2 separate regions of the Homo sapiens genome follow, and region 1 is linked to region 2. The links are contacts of gene promoters, found by promoter capture Hi-C in blood cells and fetal thymus (Javierre and others, 2016). All regions are on one chromosome and are shown on one strand. Each heading gives the region's core, a stretch centred on a gene start or on the middle of the fragment in contact. The rest is flanking DNA. Distances are from core to core; before and after follow the strand shown. Region 1 has its middle 25 kb from the start of OSTC. Region 2 holds the start of CYP2U1 (cytochrome P450 family 2 subfamily U member 1).

Evidence for each region. The method cuts DNA at HindIII sites, captures the fragments that hold promoters and counts their contacts. A CHiCAGO score of 5 or more calls a contact.
Region 1: a contact is called between a fragment that was not itself captured here and the fragment with the promoter of CYP2U1 in region 2, in 1 of 17 cell types (activated CD4 T cells). The highest score is 7.8, in activated CD4 T cells.

What each region holds. Positions count from the first base shown.
Region 1 is chr4:108,673,369-108,677,948 of GRCh38, forward strand. No RefSeq gene overlaps it. Among named protein-coding and RNA genes, the nearest start is that of OSTC, 25 kb to the left of the region's middle. The HindIII fragment of the contact is 2,133 bases long and covers 1,581-3,713 here.
Region 2 is chr4:107,929,289-107,934,129 of GRCh38, forward strand. It overlaps CYP2U1 (cytochrome P450 family 2 subfamily U member 1), which reads left to right and starts at 2,261. Exons shown (of 5, transcript NM_183075.3): 1 at 2,261-2,845. The coding sequence starts at 2,356. CYP2U1-AS1 (CYP2U1 and SGMS2 antisense RNA 1) reads right to left here and starts at 2,831. Exons shown (of 7, transcript NR_125929.1): 1 at 2,683-2,831. All of the region lies in intron 1 of LOC107986298 (a long non-coding RNA gene), which reads right to left. It overlaps LOC124900751 (a long non-coding RNA gene), which reads right to left and starts at 2,297. Exons shown (of 2, transcript XR_007058221.1): 1 at 1,685-2,297; 2 at 1-615. RefSeq lists enhancers at 1,631-2,138, 2,799-2,868, 2,929-2,998 and a silencer at 1,999-2,588. The HindIII fragment of the contact is 6,450 bases long and covers 982-4,841 here.

The DNA of each region.
Region 1 (4,580 bases), core at 1,397-3,896, 740 kb after region 2:
ATTCAACTTACCTTTTCAAAACTCTACACCCAACAATGGGTGTGCACATCATATGTTTACCATGATAGTCCGTAAGATTGGCCTTAAAGCAGCTGTAATACATTTGAAATGATTGAAAAAAGTTAATCTACCTGAGGATAGACAAATAGGTCAGTAAAACAGAGAAGAGTCCAAAAATTGATGCACACATATATGACCCATTGACTTGGTAAAAGTTCCAAGGCAATTCAATGAGGAACAAATAGCTTTTTTTTTTTTTTTTTTTGAGACAGAGTCTCTCTCTGTTGCCCAGGCTGGAGTGCAGTGGCATGATCTCAGCTCACTGCAACCTCTACCTCCTGGGTTCAAGTGATTCTCCTGCCTCAGCCTCCTGAGTAGCTGGGATTACAGGTGCCTGCTACCATGCCCAGCTAATTTTTAGTAGAGATGGGGTTTTGCCATGTTGGCCAGGCTGTTTTCGAACTCCTGACCTCAGGTGACCTGCCCACCTTGGCCTCCCAAATTGCTGGGATTACAGGTGTGAGTCACCGCTCCCGGCAAGAATAGCCTTTTTAACAAATGGTGCTGGGGCAATTGGATAACCATATGCAAAAAAAAAAAAAAAAAAAAAAAAAACTTCAACGCTTACCTCACCATTTACAAAACTTCATGAATGACATGGATCACAGACTTTAATATAAGAGCCTGAATCATAATACTTCTAGAAGAAAACATGGATGAAAAATGTAGTGACCTTGGGCTTGGCAAAGATTTTTAAATATGATACACAAAAGCATAAGCTATAAATGAAAAGAACATCAATCAACTAGACTGGATTAAAATTAAAAACTTTTTCTTTTCAAAAGATACTGTTAAGAAAATTAAAAGGCAAGCCTCAGGCTGTTGGAAGATACTTGCAAAATATATATCTGACGAATGACTTCTATCTAGTTGTATATGGTTGTGGGGGTGAGGTCTGGGGAGAAGAGTGGGAGGTATGAGAGGGAGGAGTGACAAAAGGTCATAAGGAAACTTTTTTGGGTGATGGATATTTTCATTTTATTTTACTTTTTTTTTTTTAAAAAAAATGTAGGCTACCTTGGTAGTTTATGAAGGAAATCAATAGTATTAAAAATTGGATGTAAAAAATGGATACCATCAGAAACCCATGGATGAAGAGAATGGGAAGCTGCTCATTAAGATCAATTGAACAGGATGCCTCAGGGCATCACCAGGGCCCCAGCCCCTTCCAGTAGCTAAAAATGCAAAGAAAAAGATAGAAGAAGGAAGGAAGGAAGGAAGGAAGGAAGGAAGGAAGGAAGGAAGGAAGGAAAGGGAGGGAGGGAGGGAAGGAGGGGAGGGAAGGGAGGGAGGGAGGGAAAGAAGGAAGGAAGGAAGGAAGGATTATAATACTTAAATTATACTTACAAATTATTTTTCCTGAAATAAGAGATTTGAAACTATTTTGAAAGATCATGTAGTAACCGGAAAAACTGACCGAAAACGATGGACTCCAAGATATATCTTAATAAAATTATTTAAAATTTTAAAATACAGGGGATATTATAAACATACGCCAAAGATTATCCCCCCATATGCCAAGCTTTTCATTAACTTGACTAAAGGTTACAAGTATAGTACTAGGATCCTCTCCTGAATGGACACAGGCCCAGCTGCCTTTTAACCGAGAGAGGTTGGGTTCTATCTGTGAGGAGGCACTGAAAACATTACTGGGCTGATCAGTTCCCCTCAGCTGGCTTTCTAGATGACAAAAATTCTTTTTAATTCACATAGTCTACCAGTCTGTGGGACTTGAAAATAGCCAAGGGAATTCTGGGGAGATAAAAAACGGTCTTGTCTTGACACAGCTTATCAAAGAGCAAAACTCTGGGCTCTATTCAGAAAGTATAGTACTCTATAAATTTAGTTATCTAAGTAAAGTTGAGGAACGTGCCTATGAAGTACCATTTCAAGTGAAGACCAGCTATAACTTCGCATATATACTCATTAGTGAATATAGATTTTAAAAATAGGATGCCACATGGCATCTTTTCCTGACTTTATTAACAGTAGTGTTGGAAGTGCTCTTTTGTGAGTCCAGCCCTACATCACCAAGGACATACCTAGCAAGGAAGTGAGGGTAATATTTTTCTATTTAATGTTTCATAATTCTGGCCTTTTAAAATGTCTGACTTGAAGAAAATAAGTCAGTCATATTCAAGATTAATCTATACAACATGTTTGACGGTATTTTAAGTTTATATTTTTAAATTTAATTAATTGGCAAAAATTGTATATTGTATACATTTACAGTGTACAACATGATGTGCATATATATATATATATATATACACACACACACACACACACACACATTGTGGAATGGCTATGCAAGCTAATTAATGTGTGAATTACCTCACATATTTACCTTTTGTTTTGGTGAAAATACTTAAAATCTACTCTCTCAGTAATTTTCAAGTATACAATATATTGTTATTAACTATATTCACCACGATGTTCAATAGATCTCTTGAACTAATTCCTCCCACCTAACTGAAATTTTGTGCTCCTTGACCAACATCTCCCCAATTCTCCTACTCTCTAGCCTCTAGTAACCACGATTTTACTGTTCAACTTTTCTAGATTCCACATTATATGTTCATTATCTTAATTGTGGCATGGTTTCCAGGACAGAGGTCAAACTTATCAGATTGCACATCTTAAATACATGTAGTTTATTATTTTTTTGAGACAAGGTCTCACTCTGTCACCCAAGCTGGGGTGCGGTGGTGTGTTCACGGCTCTCACTGCAGCCTCCATCTTCTGGGCTCAAGTGATCCTCCCACCTCAGCCTCCCAAGTAGCTGGGACTGTAGGTGCGCACCACTACACCTGGCTGATTTTTTGCATTTTTTAGTAGAGATGAGGTCTCCCTGTGTTGCCCAGGCTGGACTGGGCCTCCAAGCCTCAAGTGATCCTCCCACCTCAACCTCCCAAAGTGCTGGGATTACAGGTCGTGGGTCACCCGGCCTGGCCCAAATATGTGTAGTTTTTAAAAAATGTCAATTATATCTTTAAGCTGTTTTTAAAAAGTCAAGTTTTTTTTAAATTTTTTTGTTTTTTGGTTTGTTTTTGAGACGGAGTCTGGCTCTGTCGCCTAGGCTGGAGTGCAGTGGCGCAATCTCGGCTCACTGCAAGCTCCACCTCCCGGGTTCACGCCATTCTCCTGCCTCAGCCTCCTGAGTAGCTGGGACTACAGGCACACACCACCACGCCCAGCTAATTTTGTTTTTTTTTTTTTCCAGTAGAGACGGGGTTTCACCATGTTAGCCAGGATGGTCTCAATCTCCTGATCTCGTGATCCGCCTGCCTCGGCCTCCCAAACTGCTGGGATTACAGGCATGAGCCATGTACCCAGCCTAAAAAGTCAAGTTTTTAATAGGCCACACCCTTGACTATAAACTTCTACTTCTTCCTTCCTCTTTGCCCATCCCTCAGTCCTGCTGCACCCAGTGGTCTAGCTACCTCTTTACAAGATTACCCGAAGTCCACTTGTTATCAAGTTTATGGAATTTAGTTTAGGTAATTTGTTATAAAATATACAAGAAAATTCAAATTATAATTTCATTAGCCAAAATGAGGTGTGTTCTAACTACTGTTGACATTATCAGTGATGGGAACTTCCTTACCTCTCAAGGTAATCCATTCCATCTTCAGATCACTTTTCTTTTGGAAAGCTTTTTTTTTGTTTTAGTTAATTGGTTTTGGTTCCATCCTTGTGCCTATACAGAACATACTTAGCTGCACACCATAATGATAGCCAGCGTTTCAAATATTAAAAGCCTGTCATGTGCCTCCATTTTTCTCAGGTTAGCTATTTATAGTTTCTCAGGCTCAGAAACATGAGGTCTGGTTCCTTTATGATCACTCTTGTCTAACTGCAGTCTAGGTTCTCTATGTTAATTTGAAAATAAAGTCCCCAAAAGAATATGTACTGCTCTTAGAAAGCATATTAGACCAATATAGCCGTTTTGGTGGCTAAATACGTCTCCTAAGCTATGTTAACCAATTAGATTTGGATTCGTATGCCACCTTTGCCAGTTACCAGCTGTTTCACCTTTAGCAAGTTAAATATTCTCCAAGCCTCACTTTCCTCTTGGTAAAATGAAGATAACAATACCTACCCCATAGGGATGTTCTGATAATTAAATGAGATAATGCACAGCCTCTGGAACATATGAGGTGCTCCACTTATCTGTAGTTATTTTCCCACTCACACCCCATACTTTTTTCAATGCATGATTGTACATTCTCCTCTGGAGATGGAAGTGGTATAAATGTGCATACATTGGCAGGTATGATAAATATAGTTGGATCATGGAATGTCTGCTTTTATTTCTATGTTCATTGAAAACAGTGTTTTTATGATTTATGTTGTATCTGTTGCAGGGGGGAAATAGTTTCAAAGCAGCATGATGCCACCGCTCGACTGAAGGCCAAGGAGCTGCCTTTGGGTAATGGATGGCACCTCCTCTTCATAAAGTCCATTTCTTCAGATGCCTCCTGTGGTGGATGAACCTTTGCATATGTCATTAAGTGCTT
Region 2 (4,841 bases), core at 1,011-3,510:
ATTTGCCGGGCGTGGTGGTGCGGGCCTGTAATCCCAGCTACTGGGAGGCTGAGACAGGAGAATCGCATGAACCTGGGAGGCGGAGGTTGCAGTGAGCCGAGATCACACCACTGCATTCCAGCATGGGCGAAAGAGCGAGATTCCATCGCAAAAAATAATAATAATAAAATAAAAGTGTATCCATAATATTATGAACAATATCCCTTCCTGTATTCGTTTGCTAGGGCAGCCATAACAAAGTACTACAGACTGGATGTTTTAAACAACAGAAATTTATATTTATATCCTCACCGTTCTGGAGACTAGAAGTCAAAACTCAAGGTGTCAGCAGGGTTGATTTCTTCTGAGACCTCTCTCCTGACTTGTAGATGGCTGCCTTCTGACTGTGTCCTCACATCCTCTTTCCTCTCTGTGTCCTTATCTCCTCTTCAGACACCAGTCATATTGGTAAGAGCCCATCCACAGGACTCCATTTTAGCTTAATTACCTCTTTAAAGGCCCTTTCTCCAAATACAGTCTTATTCTGAGGCACTGGGGGTTAGGACTTCAACATATAGTGGTGAGGAGAGGCTGAATTCAGCCCAGATTTCCTATCTGCCCCGCACAGCTATTAACCTAGTGAAAATGAGAGATTTAGGAAAACACTACACGTGCAGTTACATCCTGTACAATATAAAAGGGTGGCTGTTGGAGTTGTTAAATTAGTCACAGCTTCAACTATTTTAAAATCATTTATGAATTTAAATTGCTTGTATGGGATGATGTATATAGTGGCTACTGTTTCAGAGAGCAAAGCCCTAGAATCAGATGACATCCAGAATGTCATGTTGAAGATCGTATCTGCAAACAAGTAGTTTAAATTTTTAAAAACTTCTCTTAATTCAAAAATTCAAAAAAAATGAGAAAAGTAATCTCACAAGTAGTGGTTAATTATAGAAGATGAGAGGTGTGGAGGTTTTTTTTTTTTGTTTGGGGTGCATAAGCTTAAAATAACATGAAAAGCATGTCAAAAAGAATATGAGAACAGAGTGGACTTGAAATTTAACATATCCTACTGGCATCACTTGTTTATAGAAAAATAAAATGGATCATGTATTTATTTGAGGACTCACTATGCTTTCTTTGATCACATTTTTATAGGTACAGCGTGGTGTTCAAACTTTTAATGTATGGAGAAAAATGAAACGGCTAGAAAAATGGCCCAGTACAGACAATTCTATGCTCAATCCAACTTGAACAGAAACTACAGGATTTGGCCTAAACAAGACTGAAAGGGAAGCCCTTATCAGGAAAGCCATTATCTGAGAAGATAAAATAAAGTAATACTTTGTTTTTAAAGTATTATACAATTCATATCTAATATTTCAACCTCAGCCTTTCAAGTGTTGTCTAACACCAATAATAATATTGCCACCCCTCCCTCAACCGGTTATCTTCTTTTCATATTTCTAGCTACTTAAATCCACCAAGCAAATTCTGGTTTCGCTATTTCTGGATTTAAGTACATTTTCTAATGCACCCAGGCCACACGCAGGAATGGACACAGCTTTCGCTCTCCGCATAAGTTTTCTAGCCCAGGGCAAGCTCTCAGAACGTGACTCCTCGTGCCTCGCTGCCCGCCCCTCGCTCCCCCCACTCCCGCCATCATCCCTTCCGCAGAGTTGGCTGCCAAGCCGACACCCACAGATTCTGCATTCCACGGCTTCCCAGCATCCTGCTGTCTCTGCGTGGAGGAAAGGGTGCTGCGAATCCCAGTTTAGATAAGGAACCCCGTCTTTTCACTACTACACCGAAGCATGCAGGAATAGGGCGTTGACCCCATTCTCCCAGCTCAGGGCACAGGTGCTAAGGCCGACCCATCTCACGGGCCTGTTCACCAGTTTCCCACACTCAGTACAGATCCTAACACGGTTTATGCACTTCATAACCATGCGTTTGTGTTTGTCAACTGACAAACGAGTGATAATGACAAACGAATGACACAAGGGAAACCAACAGCCAATCAGAGCGCAAGGTTGTGTTGCCAGCATCCCAGTTTCAGGGACAGTCACCGCCAAGCCCGACCCTGCAAAGGGTCGTAACCGGACTTCGGGGCAAACTTCAGGTCCCCCGCCTGCTAGCCCGCCAACCCCCTCCGCCAGGCAGCCGGCGCGCCTCCAGGTTCCGCCCAGGCGTCGCTGAGTGGCGGCGGCGGGGAGAATGCGCGCGGCGCAGCCAATCCGGGGGCGTTCCTACACCCCCTGCCCGCCCCCGACCTTCCAGAGCAGAGCAGGACACTGGCGCCGCGGGTCAGGCAGCTGCGTGCGCGTCTCCTCCAGGCAGCAAGGGGAACCCGAGGCCGCCGGCGCCCGGACCATGTCGTCTCCGGGGCCGTCGCAGCCGCCGGCCGAGGACCCGCCCTGGCCCGCGCGCCTCCTGCGTGCGCCTCTGGGGCTGCTGCGGCTGGACCCCAGCGGGGGCGCGCTGCTGCTATGCGGCCTCGTAGCGCTGCTGGGCTGGAGCTGGCTGCGGAGGCGCCGGGCGCGGGGCATCCCGCCCGGGCCCACGCCCTGGCCTCTGGTGGGCAACTTCGGTCACGTGCTGCTGCCTCCCTTCCTCCGGCGGCGGAGCTGGCTGAGCAGCAGGACCAGGGCCGCAGGGATTGATCCCTCGGTCATAGGCCCGCAGGTGCTCCTGGCTCACCTAGCCCGCGTGTACGGCAGCATCTTCAGCTTCTTTATCGGCCACTACCTGGTGGTGGTCCTCAGCGACTTCCACAGCGTGCGCGAGGCGCTGGTGCAGCAGGCCGAGGTCTTCAGCGACCGCCCGCGGGTGCCGCTCATCTCCATCGTGACCAAGGAGAAGGGTGAGCGGGAGGTCGTGGGCTGTGGGTACGCGGATGCCGCGGATGAGTCTCCAGGTGCGTGGGGGCTGCAGTTCCTGTGCCCCTTCCGGCCGCCCGCGCCCCCAGGCTGCCTCACACCTGCATCCTGAACTAACAGGTGATGGTGGTGGCGGCGCTTCTCCTTTCTGATGCCTTTAAGATCCCATCAAGTAGTGACGGACGCGTGACTTGCTCATACTCCAAGATCATAAGTAGAAAAGTCATCCGGAGATTGAGGGAGAGTAATAGGGATGGCGGAAGGACAAGGTGGCAAGCCAGGTTCCATCTTTCCAAAAGTAGCCTTCCCTTCCACCAGCTGTGACCTCGGAGAGAAACTTTGGCCCCCATGTTAGAAAGAGGGAAGGATATTCTTTTTACCTTGTGGGTTTCGAATGTAAGAATTTAAGAAGATAATTTCCAATAAGATAAAAAGTCCAGAAAACACAGAAGAAGCCTATTACCAAATCTCCGGCTTTGGTTCATAGCCTCTGATTCCTGCGTATGGGAGTCTAAATTGGACATTTTTGGGGGTTGGAAAACGTGTTATCTGCTGCAATAAAATGTCCAATCTAACCTGTCTCTACCGTCCCCCTTTGTCTTACTGGCTGGCTTAGGTCTCTGACTTCTTTTCTGAGTCACTCCTACGCATCAGTCAGGTGTTAAATGCCTTTTCCTTGGGGAAGCCTTTTCTCACAGCCTCTGCAAGTAGGGTAGCCTCCCTTGTTAGAACCAGGTCCCTTGCCCAAGCACTTTTCCTTCACTACACTTTTCAAAACTGACGCTACATAACTTTATGACCTTGGGCCTGGATGTCAGTCTTCACCACTGTTCTGACATCTAGGAGGACAGAGTCATTGCTGTCTGAAACATAGTAGGAGTTCAAGTATCTATTAAATGAATGCTATTTCCTGCCCCTATAACATGGCAAAGAAAGATCTAGGCTTTTCAGAATCTGATAAAGCCAGAGTTTTGCATCAGGATTTTAAACGGAAAAGACAAATATTGTATGATCCACTTATATGAGGTGCCTCCTAGCGTAGTGAAATTCATAGGGACAGAAAGTCTCAGTTTTGCAAGATGAAAAAAGTTCTATGGATGGATGGTAGCAATGGTTGCACAACAGTGTGACAGTACCTAATGCCATTAAGGTGTGCACTTAAAAATGGTTAAGATGGTAAATTTTATATGTATTTCACCACAATTTTTAAAAAAGAAAAGAAAAGCAGGTAGGTTTTCTCCAGGCACCCATGAGCTCAGAAGAGAATTTTAGGTAGAAGCAGTATTACGAAGGCATGTAGTGGATGAGGTGTGAACTGTGACATTTGTTTTTCAGTGGGGCATTTAAAGTATTATGATCTTTATCCCTACTCATTTAAAATCCTTAGATAATGTCTTAGTGTTCATCCATGTTGTGGCATATGTGAAAATTTTCTTTTGAAGACTAATATTCCATCATATGTACAATCATCCCTCCTTATCTGTAGGGGATTCCTTCCAGGACCTCCTGCGAATAACAAAACCCTAGGATGCTCAAGTCCCTGATATAAAATGGTGTAGTATTTGCATATAGCCTATGCATATCCTCTTGGATACTTTAAATCATCTCTAGATTATTTATAATACCTACTACAATGTAAATGCTTTGTAAATAGTTGTTATACAGTATTGTTTAAGGAATGACAAGAAAAAAAGTCTACACATTCAGTACAGATGTGTTTTTTTGATCTGCGGTTGGTGGAACCAACAGATGTGGAACCCATAAATGTGGAGGGTCGACTGTATATACCACATTTTGTTTACCCATTCATCCATTGATAGACACTTGTGCCTCCAACTTTGGGCTATTGTGAATAATGCTGCTATAAATAGAAGGGGGCAAATATCTGAGTCCCTAGGAGTTACTTGATCATGTGGTAATTCTAGGTTTAATTTTTTGAAGAACCATCATACTATTTTACAGTGAGTGCACCAGTTTACA